Linked DNA regions of Homo sapiens: all the other regions are linked to region 3. Evidence: promoter capture Hi-C in human tissues and cell types (Jung and others, 2019). All regions are on one chromosome and are shown on one strand. The core of a region is centred on a gene start or on the middle of the fragment in contact, and the rest is flanking DNA. Distances in the headings are between cores, read along the strand shown. Region 1 overlaps CADPS2 (calcium dependent secretion activator 2). Region 2 has its middle 36 kb from the start of TAS2R16. Region 3 holds the start of CADPS2 (calcium dependent secretion activator 2).

Evidence for each region. The method cuts DNA at HindIII sites, captures the fragments that hold promoters and counts their contacts. A contact is called where the count stands out against the background at its distance.
Region 1: a contact is called between a fragment that was not itself captured here and the fragment with the promoter of CADPS2 in region 3, in 2 of the 25 tissues and cell types used here (aorta and dorsolateral prefrontal cortex).
Region 2: a contact is called between a fragment that was not itself captured here and the fragment with the promoter of CADPS2 in region 3, in 1 of the 25 tissues and cell types used here (H1 embryonic stem cells).

Annotation. Positions count from the first base shown.
Region 1 is chr7:122,744,505-122,747,268 of GRCh38, reverse strand. All of the region lies in intron 1 of CADPS2 (calcium dependent secretion activator 2), which reads left to right. All of the region lies in intron 2 of LOC124901738 (a long non-coding RNA gene), which reads right to left. Among named protein-coding and RNA genes, the nearest start is that of RNF148, 43 kb to the right of the region's middle. The HindIII fragment of the contact is 3,445 bases long and covers 1-2,764 here.
Region 2 is chr7:123,030,072-123,033,030 of GRCh38, reverse strand. No RefSeq gene overlaps it. Among named protein-coding and RNA genes, the nearest start is that of TAS2R16, 36 kb to the right of the region's middle. The HindIII fragment of the contact is 5,146 bases long and covers 1-2,959 here.
Region 3 is chr7:122,884,938-122,887,922 of GRCh38, reverse strand. CADPS2 (calcium dependent secretion activator 2) reads left to right here and starts at 1,463. Exons shown (of 30, transcript NM_017954.11): 1 at 1,463-1,924. The coding sequence starts at 1,586. RefSeq lists silencers at 1,056-1,215, 1,226-1,385, 1,456-1,535, 1,546-1,595, 1,636-1,765 and an enhancer at 2,126-2,175. The HindIII fragment of the contact is 17,974 bases long and covers 1-2,985 here.

The sequences.
Region 1 (2,764 bases), core at 120-2,619, 140 kb after region 3:
AGAAGACTTGTTTGCAAAACCTCCTGGATTTTGTCAGATCTTAGTGGGTGGCTGGGTGTTGGGGGGAATGGCTTTCTATTGCAATGAGAACTTCTCAGAATGGCTCATTAAAGTTTCTATTTCTCTTCAACTCTCTGCCTCCACAGTCATCTCTCAATTGCTGTTTGCCACAGAGATCACTCAGGCTGCTATTTGTGATAATTGGTTTACATTTGCTTTTGATGAGGTTACATTGTTAGTGGGGACCATTAGAGGCTATTATCATGGTCCTTTTCACTCTCAGAGAAGTGAGTGAGGCAGACGCTGTCAATGAATAAGAGAGTCCTAAAGCAGAATTTTGGAAGATAATGACCAACAAGACTTGCCAATTCTCTCTTAGTTACTTATTACTATGTTCAGGGAGAGTCCTGTTAAATAACTCCTCAGCACTTACCTTGATTATCATTAGTAAGGCTCAGGTGAATGAAGACCTAGAATCAAATAAGAATATAACAGTGGGTAAGGGGAATGTAGTGATAGAGCAAGCTTGTCTGGCCCACAGGTCGTATGCAGCCCAGGATGACTTTCAATGCAGCCCAACACAAATTTGTAAACTTTAAAACATGAGGGTGTGTGTGTGTGTGTGTCTGTGTGTGTGTGTCTGTGTGTTTTAGCTCATCAGCTGTCGTTAGTGTTAGTGTGTTTTACATGTGGCCCAAGACAATCTGCTTCTTCCAATATGGCCCAGGGAAGCCAAAAGATTGGACACCCCTGTGATAGAGTAAAAACTGTGGATTGGGGTTCAGGAAACCTAGGTTAGGCTCCCAGTTCTATGACCTAACTGGGTCTGTACCTTAACCTCTCAGTCTGTTTTCTTATCTATAATGTGGGGGTTGGCAGGTATTTTTTTATTCTTTTCTTTTTTTGTGGTTCTGAATGTTTGAAATCTGGTATTTCAAACTTAAAACGTATGTTAACTTGGATTAGCCACATTTCAAGTGCTCAATAGCTGCATGTGGTTAGTGACCACTGTGTTGGACAGCACAACTGTGGATCCATCTATTGTTAATTATTCACGGGCATCCATCTTAATATTTGTTTTTGTTTGTGGCTTCTGCAATTGCTGAAATAAAATGACCATGTATTTCTAAAATCATGGCAATTATAAAGCATTTAATATGTGTTAAGTATTTTTATTCTATCATTTAATGCAACAGCCCTATTAGATGTCTATTTTTACTGCCTTATTATATAGATGAAGAACTTGAGGCACTGAGGTTAAGGGACCTGCTTAAGACCCTACAACTTGTAGGGGAATCTTGGATAAAAACAGAAGTAGTCTGACTTCAGAACTCTTATTATTTCTACTTCCCCGTTAGTAATACATAAACTTACTAATTAATAAAATAGGTTAAGTTATCTATGATAGACTTTTCTGATCCATTGTGGTGTGTTGAAATTATCTGGAATTTTTATTATTGCATGATAAACCGACTTTTTTGTGGGGTCAGGCAAGCATGAGAATAGAGGATGTAGCTATCCCAGTAGGGAATAGTTTCATAGCAACCAACTGATATTTGCTTTCCCTTACTTCATTTATTCATTCTTTAAAAAAAAAAGAGGATATTCTATGTGCTAGGCCTTATCTACAACAAAAGCGGCTTTAGGATAAGAACTTGGTTTTAGGCTAAAACCAAGTTCTTATCCTAAAGCCACTTTTGTTCTAATGGAAAGACTTAAATAATAAGCAAATAAATGCCTACAAGCTGTATACAACACATTGCGTAGGGATAAACACCTTTTATTGAAAGAAGTCTGTAGCTGTGAGGGAAACGGAATAATATGGTAATCGGAAAGAATATAGGCTTTGGGATCAAGATGCTGGTTGAAATTCTATCCCTGTCTCTTACTAGATGCGAGGTTAAGTAAGATCCTTAACTTCTTTGAGCTTAGTTTCATCCTTTGTAACAAATATAGAGAATTTTAAGAAGATTAATCAGACATGTTAGAAGAGGGCAAAGTTTCAATTATGTGGGATGAAAATGTTCTGGGGATCTAGTGTACAGCATAGTGACTATAATTAATAATAATATATTTTATATTTGAAATTTGCTAAGAGTAGACCTTAAATGTTCTCACCGCTCCTGCCATGCACACACACACACAGACACAAAAGGTAACTGTAAGATGATGGGTGTGTTAATTAGCTTAGTTTTAATTATTTAACAGTGTAACATATCAAAACATTGTATACTTTGTATACCTTAAATGTTTACGTTTTTACTTGTCAGTTATAGTTCAATAAAGTAAAAAAAAAAAGAAAAATGAGATGTACATGGAATGTAGTCAGTAGAACATGACAAGGAAACTCATGGAATAATTAATGGATTTAACATTTGGAGCTTAGCATTCACCAGCTCCCTGCCCACGCCAGACAATGCCATGATGACATGTAATTTTGCTGAGGTTTGAATCGGACTGGGAGATCAATGAGAATGTGGGTAGGCGTCATTCACTTAGTGCTGAGTGAGCCTAGACTGGGTTGGGGTCCATTTGTCCACCATGCAATGGGAGTTTGCTGTTCTGTACTTATCACTTAGTTTACATTTTATTATAAAACATATTAATATGGTGTTTATAAATTTTGGGCTTTTAAATCGTCCTGTCAACACTGTGTGACAGTGGAATTTGGTTTGCCAAAATAACTTTGTTTTCAATCTATATCCAGCCAGCTTAGGTGTTCACTGTTCGCTGGGGCAAGTTTATTGGATAAGGAGTTTTTCAT
Region 2 (2,959 bases), core at 5-2,504, 150 kb before region 3:
TGAAGAAGTACCCAAGACTGAGTAATTTATAAAGAAAAAGAGGTTTAATGAACTCACAGTTCCAAATGGCTGGGGAGGTCTCACAATCATGGTGGAAGGTGAAGGAGGAGCAAAGGCACATCTTATATGGTGGCAGGCAAGAGAGCATGTGCAGGGGAACTGCCCTTTGTTAAACCATTAGATCTCATGATACGTATTCACTGTCACGAGAACAGCACAGGAAAACCCCAGCCCTGTGATTCAATTACCTCACACTGGGTCCCTCTGACATGTGGGGATTGTGGGAGCTACAATTCAAGATGAAATTTGGGTGGGGACATGACCAAACCATATCAAATGCCTAGAGCTCTTTTGCAAAGGACATATAACTCTTTGTTGGTGGGATGCATGACCTGAAGCCTAGAATCCCAGGAGTGTTTAATGTGATTTTTCATACTGGATCATTCTATTAGCTCTATGCTGCATTTTTTCTCACCATTGATACTTCCATCACCATAAGATATGCTGTATTGTACTGGCCAAGTAGTGGGGCTGATTGCACTGCCAAGTGGATATGCTACAGTAACTTTTACTTCTCTTGGCCCCAGCCAAAGATAGCAGCCCTCTATGTCACCAGGTATATGTGCCAGAGCAATATTTCTAAGCGTAGAAAGTGTTTTCTCCATAGCACTCTTGCTGGCTTTCCATTTACTTGCTTCTAGGAATACCAGGCTATAGTTACCATCTCCACAATGACTTTACCAATTATAATGATTATTCCAGCTTTCTGGCTTGTGATAATTAAGCAATACCACCTGGCCTGTATTACTGTGGAGCCCGACCATTCCCACAGATGCTAATAAGCCCAGCTCTGCGGCTGCACCTCCTACTATCATCACTGGCCTGTATACACTTCTTGGTGATGCTGATGCCTGTCTCACCAGTATAATCCTGATGACCTTGGTAAATGGTGTATTATCTGGGATCTCTCTTGGATCCCAGACCTCTGGTGGGTCTTCTGGCCATACAAAATATATCCATCCCATTATGCCCATTTCTCTCAATCTTTTTATTCTCTCACCTGCCATCTGCCATGCAGCATGTTAAATTTCATGTCCTAAGAAATGAATACTTGCTTATCTTGCTTTAGAATCCAGCCATCTAATCAAGTACCATCAAAATCCCAAAATACTCCCTTAATTTACTGCTCTATGCCAATGTTGGGGCACTGATAAAAAGGACCTCAACCAGTTCTTGTTATTCTTTAGGTTAATTGTTCTCAGCTGCAGGCATCTTTTCCCCCAAGCAACATTTCGAAACATCTGGAGATATTTTTGTTTATCACAACCAAGGATGTCACAACCAGCATCTAATGGGGAGAGGCCAAGGATCATGCTAAACATCCTACAATACCCAGGAAACCCTCCACAAGGAAAACAAAATATTCAATCTAAATTGTCACTAGTGCCATGTTTGATAAGCCCTGTTTTACATGTATAGTCTTTTTCCTCCCTTTTCAGATCCAGAATGTCCCAGCCAGGTGATGCTGGGCTTTAACCCTAATTATCAGCCCAGCAGCCAAGAAAGGAAGTGAGTGAAGGTTCTGAGAGGACACCTGTTTCCTTGTGTCAGAAGAAAAGGAGAAGGCTTCTGCAGCATCTTTCAGCAAAGTAGAATTCCTAACCCTTCCTTACTAAAAGATGTTGGGTCAACTCTGCAAACGTAGAAGGCACAACGAAGACAGGATTAGACATGAAGTGGAGTTCTTAGGGAAAATAACCATATAAGGGCAAATAGAAAGGGAGAAAAAGAAAGGGAGAGCCCTTAGGCCATGACGTGAATCTGCCCCGTGTGTGGAAGAGAGGGAGGGGAGGCTGCAGTTTTGGCAACATTTGTGAATTTTTTCAGGCCAAAGTTGGCCAATGAAAGAGTCATCTGTCTCCCAAAAAGAGGTCTCTGCCTTAGTATCCCCACCTCACTTGGTCATTGGTGTAGAGTGGTCCATGGGAGGCAGGCCTCTGCACAAATGCAATATTAGATTTTAATGTGCAGCTGCACATAGGGCACTCAGCCAGTTATACTTCCTGTGGTAGGATATCCATAAGGCCATTCTTGTGGGCTCCACAGTGGCCAACACAAAGTTAGCATCTGCGGACACAATCATGCAACTACTTCAAAGAGGGAAATGTTACACCCAATAAGAGAGAAATGACAGGCAGTGATTACGGCCAATCAGAACTTCTTTTCCTCATCTGATACACTCCGGGACTATTTCAATGGGCAGCACCCTGTGTGCCTTTGTCCTTTTGCCCTCTTGAATTGCAACTAATTATCAATAATTGAGGATAATTTCCAGAAAATGTGAAGGTTCGCAAAGGAATTCAGCAAAGATTACATAGTCCCTTTATGCATTGTGTTGCAATTTATAACTCTCAGATGCAAGCACACAGACCTTGATATAACTAATTTAGTTAACAATATTTGTTAATTTTTAACTTTATTTTTCCAAGGGTAAGGAAAAAAAGCTATGAATTACATTGTAAATATCAAAGATTATTTTTAGTTTATTAAATGGAATTTGTCCAAGAATCTTCAAAAACAAATCCCAATCTTCATCCAGCTAGACATACCAGGTATTAGAAACACGTATTCCAAATTCCAACTCTACTCCACCATTTAAAAGTTGTGTGACTGAGGATGAGTGAAACTTCTCTAAGACTTAGTTTCTTCAGCAGTTGAATAGGAATACTAGTAGTATTCCCCTGCTATGGCTGAGGTGGAAAATGAAATAATGCATGTAAGTCTAGCTAAGTGTTTAGCATATGCTTACCTCTCAATAAATCTAGCTATTATAAATGTAACTTGATTAGCTCACTTCTCTTCTAGTTCAAAAGAAAATAAGTTGAGAAATATTTCTTTTTTGAGATGCAGTATAAAGTAGTGAAGAATGGTACAAAGATATTTAAAAAGCTTGGGCTTT
Region 3 (2,985 bases), core at 214-2,713:
CCACAGCCATGCTCTTACTGAAGACCTTTTATTACTAGGGGGCCTGTTATGGATTAGGCAGAAAAATAGGTAAGACTCCTCAGGAGTAAATGCCTCCTTGTCTTTTACCCATCTAGAGAGAATGTCAGTAAGTGCAGAAGTCTCTCTTGTGTACCTAACTATATGAAAGTGGCCTGAAAAAGCTAAAACTGCTGTTTGACCATGGTGGTAGAGGAGCTCAGAGCTGGTAGTTAATTTGCCCTGTGTTATTTCCACTGAACTTCATCACCTCCCTGCCCACCTGGTCGCTGCACACTCCACCTGGTGTTGAATGCATTGTTTTGCCTATTTCCCCCTCTGTCAGGACTTAGGACATAAGATACAGAATTACTATAAGAAACTCCTAGGTGGTTCCAGCACTAGGACTGAGAAATCTGCGCAGATAAGGCAGGCTTCAGCGCAGCTACAAGACGCCGACTTGAGGCCAGAACCACCAGCGACTGAGTGTCATGTGCCTTAGTCACCGCGGGCTCCGCAAAAGGCTAACAGTGCTGGACACCGGGAGGGCGCTCAAATCTTTGTTGAATAAATGTCCACACTACACAACCTGTTTTGAGTCAACTGCATCCCAACCCAGAAAATAATCGAGATATGTTTGAGCTGAATCAGTATCATTTTGCACATATAAAATCTCTCTTGCCTTGAGTCTGCAGGACTAGAACAGTTTAAAAAGTAAGCCTCGTTGGTTTTCTTTTTTTTTTCATTACTCCGACTTTTATAATTTGGGCTTCAGCATGAGTATCAAAACGGCAGCAGAGCAGAGTGAGACTTTTCAAAGTCTTGTCGCAAAGATACTTCGTGGTGAAGGGCTCCAGTCCCGCTTTTCCGCGCTGGGGTTCAATCCTAGGCAGCCGATTCGGGTTGGGGAGATGTCTCGGCCGCTCCCCCTAACCTCTTGCTAGGGAACAGTCCCTCCCCGCTCCCCATTCCACCTCCACCTGCTGGAGAAAAGATCACAGGTGGTAGGGTGAGGGTAGTCGGAGCAGCCCCGGTGGACGCTTACACGGGCCATCGCGCTCGGCCGCTCCCCGCCTTTGCAAACTGTGTGCTAGGGCTCCAGGCGGGCCCGGGCAGCAGCGGCGGCGCGCGCACGCGCACTCCGCGGCCCCGCGCGGCTCTTCAACATTCAATTCCACGTGTTGCTTGTTGTAGGCGCCACAGGTTCCCCACCTGCGTCCGGGCGCTCGGGCGGCTCCGCCTCTGCCGGCGGGCTCTGGGGAACCGCTGGGTCGGCGCGCCCGGGGCTGGCGGAGCAATTCCTGAGGCGCCCAAGCTCACCCCCAACGCTAACTCCGCCTATTCAGTCCCGGCGGCTCCCCCTCTCCCCCCTCCCAATCCTCCTCCCGGCTCCTGCCCGCCCCTTTCGCCCTGGTGGTAGGAAACACTCCTGAATCTAACTCGACGTGTCCGGAAAGCCCTGGCCAGTTTTCCTTTCGTTCTGCGGCCGCTGCAGCCAGCCCCGCGGCTCCCTCAGACCCGCGGGCGCAGCCGCCGGGGGTGAGGCGCTTGGGGACCGCGGGCCGAGCGGCGGGGATCCCCGAGCACCATGCTGGACCCGTCTTCCAGCGAAGAGGAGTCGGACGAGGGGCTGGAAGAGGAAAGCCGCGATGTGCTGGTGGCAGCCGGCAGCTCGCAGCGAGCTCCTCCAGCCCCGACTCGGGAAGGGCGGCGGGACGCGCCGGGGCGCGCGGGCGGCGGCGGCGCGGCCAGATCTGTGAGCCCGAGCCCCTCTGTGCTCAGCGAGGGGCGAGACGAGCCCCAGCGGCAGCTGGACGATGAGCAGGAGCGGAGGATCCGCCTGCAGCTCTACGTCTTCGTCGTGAGGTGCATCGCGTACCCCTTCAACGCCAAGCAGCCCACCGACATGGCCCGGAGGCAGCAGAAGGTGAGTTGCGGGACCGGGCGCCTCCTACCACCACTTCTCCCTGGGTTTTTCTCCCGGGAGAGCTCTGGGACGCCTCCCGTCCTTCTGCGAAACGCAGGACACCGTATTTTTGTTAGTCTCTGAGGGCAGAGGAATCTTTGGGGACAAGACGGTGCTTTCACCCGCCGGGTATGCGGCTGCAGCGGACACCTCTTCTCCTCCTCCCCGCCTGGGCTGGCAGGAGCTGTCAGCTCACCATCCGTGAGACAGAGACCGACAGCGCCGGCCGCGCCGCGGTTGCACCCGGCAGGCGCAGCTCTGGCCGGATTAGAATGCAACTCCCATCAACTTTAATTTCCAACAGCACTGGTGCATTCCTGTCCACCTAGCCTGGCGTGATATTGCTAGAGCTGGGTTTGCCGAGGGTCTGAATGAGTGTTGTAGCTAGGCGAAACAGGTGGAGCCCGAGTACTTCTCTTAGCTAGAGTGAAGTCTTCACTTAAGAGGGGTAGAAATTTTCCTCAGTGAATAAAAAAGTTAAATTAATACGTTTCCTATATTGTCATACAACCAGGACATCAAATCCAAACACCGAGAAGGCATGCAGCTTTGTAAAGTGTTTGTGGGTAAGTAATTTCTGGTCTGGGCAGGCCTGATTAATGAAATATACTATTACTGATGAAAGATAAAGGATTGGTGCATGATCACTTCATAACAAATGCTTTCCAAATGCTTTTTTGGGGAACAAAATGCTTATTCTCCCCCAAAAGGTAAGAAGTTTGTTTCAGGTGAAAGGCTGGCCAACTTGAGTTTCAAAACAAGACCCCAGGGGCCTGATGTTCTGTACCAGACACGAGTAATGACTCAAATTGTCCTAAGTGGTTAAATGTTTACAATACAAACTCTAGGAAATCTTTTTAATAGAATGCTGAACCTGGAAGGTTCTGTAGAAATCGGTAACAGTTCCCTCAGTTTGTGACAAGACCTAGAGATCCAGAGAGATTGTAGTCTGCTCAAGGCATACCTACATGCACAGACATTTATTAGTTTTCTGAAATATTAACTTCAGTGTGTGAGGCATT